Regions from separate parts of the Homo sapiens genome. Here region 2 is linked to region 1. The links are contacts of gene promoters, found by promoter capture Hi-C in blood cells and fetal thymus (Javierre and others, 2016). All regions are on one chromosome and are shown on one strand. The core of a region is centred on a gene start or on the middle of the fragment in contact, and the rest is flanking DNA. Distances in the headings are between cores, read along the strand shown. Region 1 holds the start of ACSS1 (acyl-CoA synthetase short chain family member 1). Region 2 overlaps ABHD12 (abhydrolase domain containing 12, lysophospholipase).

Region 1 (6,284 bases), core at 1,257-3,756:
CAGGATGGGCTCCAGAATTTGTATTTCTCAAAAGTTCTCAGGTAATGCTGATGCTGCAGGTCTGAAGACCATGCGTTGAGAACCACTGGTATTCTTGAGGGGGTGAGGTGAAGCTTTCTTCAAGAGTGATATTCCTTTGGAACAAGCCATCTGACTTTATCACACACAGCTGACAGATCAGACCAAAGTGTTCTCATCCATCCCACGACTTTCTAGATGCTCCCAGAAGAGTCATGGCCTGGCCTGGCCCTTTTTCATACTGTCTTCTCTATGGTTTGCAGACACCGGCAAAGGAAAGAGATATTGCTGACCCATGAACAGGAGGGCACGCACATCCCAGGGGAGAAAGCTGCTGAAAAGCTGTTTTTCAAGTTAGTTTTCTGAAGCTCAATTTCTGGCTAACGTAGCCATAAAGGCCATATTATCAGAAGAAATAAGTGAAGGAAAAGGAGACAGAAGAATGCTTGCTGACCACACCCTGATCCTGACCGAGCGAGGTTCAGAAGGTCCTTGCTGTTGGCCCCAGGAGGTCCGCCCCACTGTCTTATCTGAGTGGGGCTGCAAGTGTGCACAGGCCAACTGTGAATGTTCCCCATGACCTTGGCCTCACAAGTCCAGAGCAGGTCACTTTCCACCTCTGTCCTTGGGCAAGCTGCTCTAGTCTCCTTCAAGGGCACATTGCCCCAACTCTGCAAACCAAAGGGTTTGGTTTTTTTCCCACTAGTTCAAGGGCACTTGCTGCTGACTCAATGTTAAAGAAAACACTTATCTAGTAAGTGACTCATTTTAATTAAACCAGCAAAGTAATATACAATTTCGGGGAGTGGGGGAGGTCCAAAGTTCCTTCCAATTTCTTTGAAAAATAACTGCAAGACACTATCTATAATTGTATGACTATTTCTGAAGTTATCTAAAATCGCTACTGCTTATGGGTCACCAGTAAGCGCTGGGTCTGCTGCACACCTTGCAGCACTCAGCCTAACCTCTGAGCATGACTGCCCCCATCCTCACAATGAGGAGACTGAGGGCTGGGGGGGCAGAACAACAAGGACAACTGAGGGAGGAGTTGGAGAAAATGGGGCCCTGGTGACCCTGCCATAAAGACCCGCAGGTCCTTTCTTAAACACTCCCAAATCCAGCAAGCTGGTTATGACCACCCTTCTGGTCTGCATCCCTCTGATCAACACCGTGTCTGCCAGCCCCTCCCCGCAGGCCCCACACCCAGGCCCACCCTGCATCCGGAGCCCACCTCGCACTTGGCACCCACCCTGCGTGGCCAGCCCTGCCTGCAGTTCAGGGCCTCCCCCTCGGTGCCCAGTCAGCGCCTTAGGTGGGGGCGAGGGTGCTGTGTACGACCCCCAGCCCCAAATCTTAGCAGAGCAGCAGGGCCTCTGCTCAGCAAGTTCCAAACAACTGACCACCAGTCAACTGTTTGGGGCCGACGTCAGACCCCGCGGGTCCAAAGCAGGCCCCAGGTCGCTGGGGTGCAGTTCTCTGAGGCCGAGAACGAGAACGGGGAGGCCGCCGTTACTTCCTTCCCGTCCACAGGCCCCAGGCCCCAGGCCCGCAGCGAAGAAATAACTGGTTCCAGCTGCCACGCCGAGTTTCCTCCTCCCCAGGTCGCCCGCCACAGCTCTGTTTGTTTACGTGGGCAGGGCTTGTCCCCAGGCTGATCCCCGGGCACCGCAGCCCGCAGTGACAACCGCCACCGCTTTGTTTTTCCCTCCACCCCGGTATGGGAACGGGAAAGTCCCGACTCCGGGGCGCTCGGGTGTAGCCCGCGGCTCCCCGCCGGCTCTTGCTCAGCGGCGCTATGCACCCGGTAACGCAACTCTGGAGTCCGCCGAGCGAGGAGCCGCGCCGAGCAAGGCCAGCAGCGGGGCGTCCCAAGCGGCCGCCGGGTCCCCGCGGGCGCCGGCCCGAGCTGGGCACGTGGATCTGGGGCCCGATGGGATGAGGGACGGGGTGACGTGGAGCCACTGCTTAGAGCGGGCGGGGCGGACGGAATACCGGAGGAGGGGCCCCTGCAGGGCTGCGATCCGCGCTGCCCGGGGACGGCTGCCGCTGGCGAGAGGCTCCGAGTCCCCTCGGGACCCAAGAGTTGGGGGCGTCCTGGGTCTCCCGAAGCCCACTCACCAGAGACATTTAACTGGCCTCCCAGGAACCAGCCGATCTTGCCAGTGCTGAAGTCGCAGTCCCAGACGGTGTGGTAGGGGGTGTCCCACACGAGAGTGTCCCGCGCCAGAGGCCCCCAGAAGGCGGCCGGCTCCCGGGCTGCCTGTGCACTCAGCGCGGGATACGAGCCTGGCTGTGCTGCTGCTGCTGCAACTGCGGGAGCGCTGCCCGAGGGTCCCGAGGCCGCCCTGCGCGGCGCGCTCACCCCGCACGGCGGCCGCGCGGGCTGCCCCGAGAGCCCTCGCAGGCTGCCCAGCAGCCTCCCGACGCCGCGGCCCAGGGTGCGCGCCGCCATCTAGGCAGGCTACCTGAGCTCTCTGTGCTCCCAGAGTGGGTGCCTCACGCCCGGGGCGCCCCGTGGAGTCTCCGCGGGCCCCGCCCCTGCTCCGCCCTTCCGCCACCATCCATTCCTCCAGGGCCCCCTCCCGGAGCCCGCCCGGGTCCCACCCCTTCTTCTGCTGCCCGGGAGAGGGGGGGCCGCTTAGGAAGAGGGGAGCAGCGTGGGGAAGGGGTGCAGGGGAGCGCGGGGCGGAGCAGGGTCCCAGGCCCTGGCCCAGGCGCTGCGCTCCGGTGAGTCTGCGGTCCCACCCGGATGTTCCTCGAGTCGGCCTGTTTTGGTTTCAGTTTGCACGCTCTCCTGCAAGCCCCGACAGCTTCTTCGAGCTGCCAGAGGCACGTGCGGCCCAGGACCCCAGGACGCAGGCTCAGGGCCTGGGGCGAGGGGACCCTCTGGGATGGGGAGGAGCCGGGAGGGAGCCGGCACCAACGTTAAGGGGGCTGGTGCACCCAAGCGCACTGGTGGGTCCCAAGACAATAGGTCGGTCAGTTCCGCATCTCAGAGGCTGAAGCCAAGGTTTTCATGCCTTTGTGCGCCCCTGAGAGTGAACCCCACCCCTGGAGTCTCAGCAGCACGCGAAAGGGGCTGGCGCCTTTCTAGGCTCCCGCCTAGAAGCCAGGAGGCTGCGCAAGCCTGAGTCCGTGTTCTGGGTCCCATGCTCCAGCCCCCCAGCTGCCGGCCTCCGTCCTGGCGGGGGTCACGTCCTGCTGGGGGTCGGTGGTGGGTGATATGGGGCGATGAGGACTTTCTCCAGTTGCTGCAGCATCTGTAGCCTGAGTTCAAACTCTGTGACCTTGAGCAAGTTCCTTAACTTCTCGGTGCCTCGTTTTCCTTTTGGGGAAGACGGAAGTAATGTCTCCCTGGGGGGCGGGGACGGCGGGGGTGGGCAGCTGCAGTAAGGAATACATTGGACAATGTCTGTCAAGCGTCTACCCTTGCGTGGCCCCATAGTAAGCTCAGTAGTGGGGATGATGTTTTTGCAGCTGTGGAGCCAGGAAGGACAGAAGGAAACGTATAAAACTGGTCTCCACCGAGTTCTTAAATATTCTGACACCCAAGAAGTAAATTCATAACAAACGGGTAAACACAGGGAAGAGAGATTTTGGAAAACTGGTTTATTGAGTTCTCTGTGATGGGAAAGTTTCTTTCCCTTGAGCTGTAGGGCTTGCAGAGGGGAGGAGCCTGCCATTGGAGGAGCCTCTGCGTGGGCTAGCCACCAGCCCCTGCTGGGGAATGCTGCTGTCTGCCAGAGAAGACAGGAGTGTACCTAGAGCTGGAGAATCAGTGACATCTACTAGCATAACACATGCCCTGCACAGTGCTAGCGCTTGACCTGCATTTTCTCCTTTATTTATTTATGATACTTTTTTAGAGATAGGGCCTGTAGCCCAGGCTGGAGTGCAATGGTTCCCATCACAGCTCACTACAGCCTGGAACTCCTGAGCTCAAGCGATCCTCCTGACTCGGCCTCCTGAGTATCTGGAACTACAAGCGTGTGCCACGGCACCCGACTAGTCTACTTAATTTGAAACTTATCTAGTGCTGTCCATTCCCACCAACTGTCAAACTCCAGGTGGAAAAAATGAGGAAACTGAGCCCAAATAAATAAAAGGACTTACTAAAGAGCATGCAGCTGGCTAAGGGAAGAGCAAGACTAACACCCAGTGCCCCCAGTGGGGAGCTCGTTGGCCTAAGTTCATTTGAATAGAATATTAAAGACACCCAGTACAGGGCACTGAGAGGCAGAGGTCAGTGAGTAGTAAAATTGTAAACTGAGAAAGCTCCTAACTGTGGCAGGGGGTCCCAAAGACGGCCACCAACTCTTCCTTCCCACGCCTGCACCGCCTGCACATGATGGTGTGCTGCTCTGTCCAGAGGAGGACCCTGGCTGGCTGGATTGCTTTGGCCAGTACAGCCTGGTGGGAGGGATGCTGTGACAGTTCCATGTGGAGGTCCTGAGAGACCCCGTAGCCCCAGCTTATCCTCCCATGGAACCCAGCTGCGAGCTGTGAGGAAGCGGGGCTGGCCTTCCAGAGGAAGGGACCCAGGGCGAGGATGAAGCTGTCCCATCCACAGCCAGGACCAACTCCCAGACAAGAATGACGCCAATGTGGAGGCTCCTGTCCCAGCCAAGGCAGCCTCATGAGTCACCCCAGATAACACCTGGGATGCAAAGGAACCTCCCAGTCCACTTACAGAATTGTAGAAGGAATAAATTTAAGCCACTAAATTTTGGGATGGTTTGTAACTCAGCAGTGGTAACTGATACAACAACTGAGGCTGAAAAATGCATGGTTCTTTCACTCACTGACTATTGCCTCTCAGTGCCCTGTACTGGGTGCCTTTCTTCTCTCTGCCTTCCAAGTGTTGAAGTGCCCAGGAGCTCAGCCCTCAAATCCCCCTTTCTCCCCTGCCCCCTAGGAAACAGCAGCCAGCTCTCTAGCCTCTCACTTTCATATTGACACCTCCCGCCTGGACCTTTCCTCCACATCTCAGTCCTGTATTCAAATGTCTCATTCACATCTGAAACATACCAAGTCCTGGGATTCTTCCCCACAACACGGATCTTCCATGTCAGTGAATGGAAATGGCATTTTCCTGTTGTTTGGGCTCATACCCTTGTCATCCTAGATTCCTCCCCCTCACACTCCACATGCAGCCTGTCAGCAAATCCTGTGACTCACCTTCAGAACACCTGCAGCACTAACCTCTTCCCCCATCACCATCCCCTCCTGCTACCATCCTAACCATACCTATCTCTTTTAGGATTATTCAGTAGGCTTCAAATTGCTTTCACCCTTGCCCCTGACAGCCTAACCAGCAGCCAGTGCAATTCCTTTAAAACAAGAGTCAGAGGAACTTGCTCTGGAGCTTGGAACAATCCAAAGGCTCCCCAGTCTCCTCAAAACAAAGACCACATCATTCCCTGGCCCACAGGCCATAGCCTCACTACTTAACGTGTGGTCCATGGGCCAGCAGCATCACTTGGATACTTTGTAGAAATGCAGAATGCCAGGCTCCATCTCAGACCTGCTGCCTCAGAATCTGCATCTTAAGCCCCAGGGGAGCTGCATGCACATTCACGTTAGAGAAGCGTTGCCCTCCCTGATCCAGTGTACCCTCTTCCTCTGCTCTCACTCATTGGGGCTCCAGCACATCAGCCTCCTCCTGTCCTTCCCATCACCCAGCAGGCTCCCACCTCAGGACTGCCACACGATGTCCCTTCTGCCTGGAATGCTCCACCCAGTTGTCCACAGAGACTCCCCCTCACCTCCTTCAGGTGTCTTCAAACATCCCTTCATCCAAGAGCCCTTTCTTCCCTGTCACCTACATAAAGTTATACCTCCGCCCTCATTCCCTAGTCTCAACCCCTGACTTGACTTTTCTCCATGGCTGTTACTTATTAGCTCTGTGTTTATCTTCCTAGTCCTCCTACCAGGAGGGAGCCCTGTGAGAGAAGAGACCAGCTATGCTGCTTGTGACTGGGCCTGGCACCAACAGCCACCCCATGGAGAGTGCACGGCAATGGCTCCTTCTTCCTACTACCTTCGTTTCTAAGGTCTTCTACAGTTGCAATGAGAAAAGTAGGTAGAACTAACTCTGTTTTAAAATAAATGCTACCTCGTTCCTTCTGGTTGGATAAGAAGAAGTGATCATTTCAGAACCAAACATGTCAGAACCAACCAGGTGGTGCAGAACTGCACTTCTTGCTGCCCGAGTTACCTAGAGGTGGCCTTGAGACCTTCCTTCTGAGTGTCACAGCCCAGGCCAA
Region 2 (6,433 bases), core at 2,836-5,335, 320 kb after region 1:
TATAGGTATGAGCCAGCACACCTGGGTGTTAACATTTCTTAAAGCATGGGTCTGCTGATGATGAATTATCTCAGCCTCTTCTTTTTTTTTTTTTAAGAAACAAGATCTTACTCTGTCACCTGCGCTTAAGTGCAGTCTCCACCTCCTGGCCTTAAGTGATCCTCCTGCCTCCCAAGTAGCTAGGACCACAGGTGCACACCACCATGCTCAGCTAATCTTTGACTTTTCGTAAAGATGGAGTCTATAAAACATAGCCAGTTTGGCTATGTTTCCCAGGCTGGACTGGAACTCCTGGGCTCAAGTGATCCTTCCATCTTGGCCTCCCAAAGTGTTTGGATTACAGGCGTGAGCCACCACACCTGGCCCTCTTTCAGCTTTTTTATATCTGAAAACTTCACTATTTTGCCTTTGAAGATATTTGGGGTGGGAGGAATGACAACATAAAAAGTTATTTTCACCTGGTCAAGAATTTTGGACGGATAGCTTTTTCTTTCAGTACAGTCATGCAAACTGCATAATAGCATTTCAGCCAACAGTGGACCACTTATACAATGGTTGTCCCATATGATTATAATAGAACTAAAAAATTCCTATTGCCTAATGTCATGGCTGTAGCGTCACAGTGAAAAGCATTACTCACATTTGTGGTGATGTGGTATAAACAAACCACTGCAAGTTGTATAAAAATGTATATTCATGTCCTAAGCCTTCACATTCACTCACCACTCACTCACTGACTCACCCAGAGCAACCTCCAGTCCTGCAGGCTCCAATCATGGTAAGTGCCCTATACTGTACTGTTTTTTATCTTTTATATTGTATTTTCACTGTACCTTTTCTATGTGTAGATACACAAATACTTAACATTGTGTCACAACTGCCTACAGGACTCAGTACAGTATCATGCTGTGCAGGTTTGCAGCCTAGGAGCAATAGGCCTTACCACATAGCCCAGGCGTGTAATAGGCCGTACCATCTATGTTTGTGTAAATACACTCTGATCTTCGCGTGACAATGCACTTGCCTAACACCACATTGCTCAGAAGGTGTACCTGTTATTGAGTGACATTACTATATTGAGTGACATTACTACATGGCATGACAGCGTCAAAGATGTTGCTTCAAGGCCAGGCGCAGTGACTCAAACCTGTAATCCCAGCATTTTGGGAAGCCGGGGCGGGTGGATCACCTGAGGTCAGGAGTTCAAGACCGGCCTGGCCAACATGGTAAAACTCTGTATCTACTAAAAATACAAAAATCAGCCGGGTGTGGTGGCGGGCACCTGTAATCCTGGCTACTTGGGGGGCTGAGGCAGGAGAATTGCTTGAATCCGGAAGATGAAGGTTGCAGTGAGCAGAGATTGTGCCACTGTGCTCCAGCCTGGGATACAGACTGAGACACCGTCTCAAAAAAAAAAATTAAAAAAATAAAGACGTTGCTTCACTGAATTCTTACTTACTTTTCTTTTAAGAAAACTTCTTTGCCCATATCTTTGTTCCTGTGTGCACAGTATGTCTTTTTTCCTCTGGTTGGTTTGAAGGTTTTTTTTTTCTTTATCACTGATTTTGAGCAATTTGATTACGAAGTGCCTTGGTATACTGCTTCATGTTTCTTATGCAGGAGATTAATTAAGCTTCTTAGCAGTGGGTTTACAGTTTTCACCAAGCTTGTAAAGTTTCTGGCCACTATTTCTTCAAATATTTTTTCTCTCCTTTCTCCTCTTCTTTGAGGACTTTAATTATCAGTATAATAGGCTACCTGAAGTTGTCCCATAGCATAGTGATGCATTTATTTATTTATTTATTGACAGGGTCTCACTCTGTTGCCCAGACCAGAGTGTAGTGGCTTGATCATGGCTCATGCAGTCTTGACCTCCCAGGCTCAAGCAATCCTCCCACCTTAGCCTCCCAATTAGTTGTAATCAAAGGCATGCACACCACGCCTGGCTAATTGTTCAATTTTTTTCTTTTTTGATGAGGTCTCCCTTTGTTGCCCAGGCTGGTCTCAGATTCCTGGGCTCAAGTGATCCTCCTTCTTTATCCTCCCAAAGTGCTAGGATTACAGGTGTGCTGGGATTACACACATGGTCGGAGTACAGGTGTGTGCCACCACACCTGGCCTAGTAATGATGCTTTTGAAAATCTGTTTGGTTCTCTTTTCCCCAGGTTTCATGTTGAATAGTTGAGCTCTTTCTTTAGCAGTGTTTAATCTGCCCTTCAATGTAATTCCCTTCAGTGTAAACTTTACCTCACACATTATGGTTTTCATCTTCAGAAATTCAATTTGGGTAATTTTCAGATTTTCCATGACTCTCCACTTAACTTCTAGAACATATGGAATACAATTACAGTAAGTTTGTTTGTTTGTTTTTGAGATGGAATTTCGCTCTTGTTGCCCAGGCTGGAGTGCAGTGGCACGATCTCAGCTCACTGCAACCTCCGCCTCCCAGGTTCAAGTGATTCTCCTGCCTCAGCCTCCCGAGTAGCTGGGATTACAGGCATGTGCCACCACACCCGGCTAATTTTGTAATTTTAGTAGAGACAGGACACAGGGTTTCTCCATGTTGGTCAGGCTGGTCTCAAACTCCTTACCTCAGGTGATCCTCCCGCCTCGGCCTCCCAAAGTGCTGGGATTACAGGTGTGAGCCACCACGCCCAGCCTACAGTGTTTTAATGTGCTTCTCTTCAACACTAACGTGCGTGTCAGTACTCAGTCGGTTTTCATTGATTATTCTCTTCATTATATACACATCATAGTTTCCTCCCACTCTGCATGCCTGTGCTATGGGCTGAATAATGTCCCCTCAAAATTTGTATGTTGAAGTCTTAACCCCTAGCACTTCAGAATATGACTGTATTTAGAGAGAGGGTCTTAAGGAGGTAATTATGCTAAAATGAGGTCATCAGGGTGGACCCTAATCCACTATGACTCAGCTTTGTAAGAAGAAATGCAGAAAGAGCCACACACAGAGGTTAGACCATATGAAGACACATGGAGAAGGTGGTCATCTACAGGCAAAGCAGAGGGGCCTCATGAGAAACCAGCCCTGCTGACACCTCCATCTTGGACTTCTGGCCTCTGGAATCGAGAGAAAATAAACTTCTGCCATTTAAGTCACCTGGTCTGTGTTACTTTGTTATGGTAGCCCTCACAAACCCATACACCTGGAATTTCCCACTACTGAAGCATGCTGTTCCTGAATGTTCTACCAGTAAATTATAATCTTGCTCTAAGTAGCAGGGACTGTATCTTCTGATCTTTTCAGACAGTTCTTTCCCCAGCCACAGAGAGTTTCCTCACACACGTGTGCTGATCAAGGGGACCCTCTGCAGACCCCAGGGTCTCTCTCTGTGTTGCTCTCTCCTCTCTGGTACTCTGTCCTATAAACTCTAGCCACATTGGTCTCTCCAGATTCTCAGCTCCACACCCACAACCCTGGGAGTCCACGTGGCTCCCCTCCCTGTGCCATGGCGTGGAAGCTCTCTCAAGGAGATCAGCTAGGGTACTGTAGGGCTCACTTCCTTTGTCTGTCACTTCTCCGAGTTTACTGTCCTTTGTTGCTTGGTGCCCAGTGTTTTAAAAATTGTTTCGTGTATGTTGTCGTTTTTGTTGTGGCTGCTATTTGGGTTATTTCCGGGTAAATTCAGCCACCTTGGTCAGTAGTGGAAGTTCTATGTTTCTTTTAAAATATGTCTATAATTAGCTGGGTGCAGTGGCTCACACCTGTAATCCCAGCACTTTGGGAGGCCAAGGCAGGTGGATCACGAGGTCAGGAGATCGAGACCATCCTGGCTAACACGGTGAAACCCCGTCTCTACTAAAAATACAAAAATATTAGCTGGGCGTGGTGGTGGGCGCCTGTAGTCCCAGCCACTTGGGAGGCTGAGGCAGGAGAATGGCATGAGCTGGGAGGCGGAGATTGTAGTGAGCCCAGATCGCACCACTGCACTCCAGCCTGGGCGACAGAGTGAGACTCTGTCTCAAAAAATAATAATAATAATAATAATGTCTACAATTAGTTTTCATCAACTCCTTCATTAATGTAACCATCAAAATTGTTGAGGAAAAGTGTTTTATCATTTAATTCCATGGTATTCTCTTAGAAGGAACAAGAGAGTAACGCCAAATCTCATTCCCCAAGACTAACAGATTAAATTCTTCTTAGCTTTTAGGCGGAAATCTTAACAACAATCTCCATAATCATATTCAAAAGCAGTCAGTGTTGAGAGCAATTTCACTCTACTGAATTGAAAACTTTAAGGCCTTAATAAAACACACAAGAGCAGTCCATAAATGTCTCTTTGTTCCCAAAGAAGAAAACAAAAAATCATGAGGATTCAGTCGGCAGAACTGAACAACTGGGTATCCTACTGTGAGAAGGCCTTATTTTCCTGGCAGAAACAAAAATATTTCACCACTGTGGTACGGCATGTTTTCAGGTGCTTTACACACAGCCACATAACCTTACCTTGCTTTATTTTTCTTTATAGCACTTTATCACCCTTTGAAATTTTACTGTATACTTATGTGCTATCTTTGTTGCCGTGTTTCTCCTTCATGAGAACAGAAGTCCCACAAGGACTGGGATTTGTCCCACTCTTGTGCAGCATTTTATCCACTCTAGCCTTCAGTGAAGGCTAGGTCAACGAAAAAGACATACTTGCTAAATGGATGGAAGAACACAGGAGCAATACTCTCAACACAGGCCACACTGTTCACAGCAATTATCCAGAGGGAGTTTCACTTTCTCTGTTTTAAATTTTTATTAAGAACTCTTTATTACTTTGGAATCAGAAAAAAAAATCAAACTGTTTGAGAGAGGAACAGAGTGAGAGAGAGAGGGCCCCTCAGAGGCCGCCCTTCACCACAGCTATGACATCTCCCAGGCGACCTCATACCTGGAGATGCTTCCCTGGGCCCTGGCAGAATCTCCTTCAGCTTTTTCCTGAGGCTCTGGGGCTGCACTGGCAGCCTCCCAGCTGGCCTGTACTGGCCTAACAGTCCCTTCCTCCTGGAACCCTAAGCCAGATATTGAATGTCCTAGAATGGCAGTCTTTTTTGCTTGCCTTCTTGTAGGTTATGCCATGATGTGCCTTGTCAAGGTGTCCTGTGTCCCCAAACTGAGAATTTTTCTCATGTCTTTAGATGGCTCTATTGGCCAGCAATGCATTTTGCATTACATCCTGTCAAGCAAGAGGCTAAGAGACCTATTCTTAGTCAGTTTTTTGTTTCTATAATTAAATAACTGAGGTCAGTAATTTATAAAGAAGGAAATTTATTTCTTAGCATTCTGGAGGCTGGGAAGTCCAAGGTCAAGGGGCCATATCTGGTGAGGACCTTCTTGCTGGTGGGGACTCCGAAGAGTCCCAAGGTGGCTCAGGGCATCACATGGTAATGGGGATCAGAGGAGATGGCCACACTGCCTTTTACAACAGTGATAACTCTCATGATAACTAACCCAAACCCTCAATAAACCATTAATCTATGAATGGATTCATCCACTCATGAGAGCAAAGCCCTCATGACCCAATCACCTCCCAAAGGTCCCACCTCTAGTTTTTTTGTTTGTTTGTTTTGAGATGGAATCTTGCTCTGTCACCCAGGCTGGAGTACAGTGGCGTGATCTCGGCTCACTGCAACTTCTGCCTTCCAGGTTCAAGCGATTCTCCTGCCTCAGCCTCCCAAGTAGCTGGGATTACAGGCGTGTGCCACCACACCCAGCTAATTTTTGTATTTTTAGGATAGACGGGGTTTCACCATGTTGGCCAGGATGGTCTTGATCTCTTGATCTCGTGTTCCGCCCACCTCAGCCTCCCAAAGTGCTGGGATGACAGGCGTGGGCCACCGCGTCCGGCCAGGTCCCACTTCTTATATGTAGTTAGTACTACATTGAGGACCAAGATTCCAATACTTTCCAACACATGAAATTTTCGGGGACACATTTAAACCATTAAACCATCAAGCCATAGCAGATACCCTGAAGATAAATCAGTACATAAAAATGTCAGAGCAACACAGGAGTCTTTAAGAAAGGATAAATGTGAATGAAGGTAGACTAACCTTCTCCAGCCATCCCTGTATTTTCTCTTTGCCAAAGGCATCATCAAAGCCTGAGTATGCAAGAGCTGATGGTTGCCAAGCATAAAACATGACAGACAACTAGCTCCCTGAGGACAGGTACTATCTCCTTGTATCCCCAGGGCCTGGCACAACATCTGGCAAACAGCAGGAATACAGTAGCTACTGAATAAAATGACCTATGGGCACTTGGCATTGACAGGGCCACTTTCAGGTAGGAGCAATGTGGTTATCCAGGACCAGGAGTGGCAAAGGTCAAGGATGAAGGGGTAGGGCATATATGATGTACACATTATGAGGAGAAAAAAATAGTTGAAAGTTAAAAGCCATATCTATTCTAGTGATCTGAACTACC

The links. The method cuts DNA at HindIII sites, captures the fragments that hold promoters and counts their contacts. A CHiCAGO score of 5 or more calls a contact.
Region 2: a fragment that was not itself captured here is called in contact with the fragment with the promoter of ACSS1 in region 1 in 1 of 17 cell types (total B cells); the score reaches 5.3 in total B cells.

The regions. Positions count from the first base shown.
Region 1 is chr20:25,055,633-25,061,916 of GRCh38, forward strand. ACSS1 (acyl-CoA synthetase short chain family member 1) reads right to left here and starts at 2,507. Exons shown (of 14, transcript NM_032501.4): 1 at 2,137-2,507. The coding sequence starts at 2,470. RefSeq lists enhancers at 1,603-1,732, 2,383-2,988 and silencers at 1,833-2,102, 2,233-2,762. The HindIII fragment of the contact is 7,356 bases long and covers 112-6,284 here.
Region 2 is chr20:25,372,140-25,378,572 of GRCh38, forward strand. The region is part of intron 1 of ABHD12 (abhydrolase domain containing 12, lysophospholipase); the gene reads right to left. Among named protein-coding and RNA genes, the nearest start is that of ABHD12, 15 kb to the right of the region's middle. The HindIII fragment of the contact is 4,842 bases long and covers 1,665-6,433 here.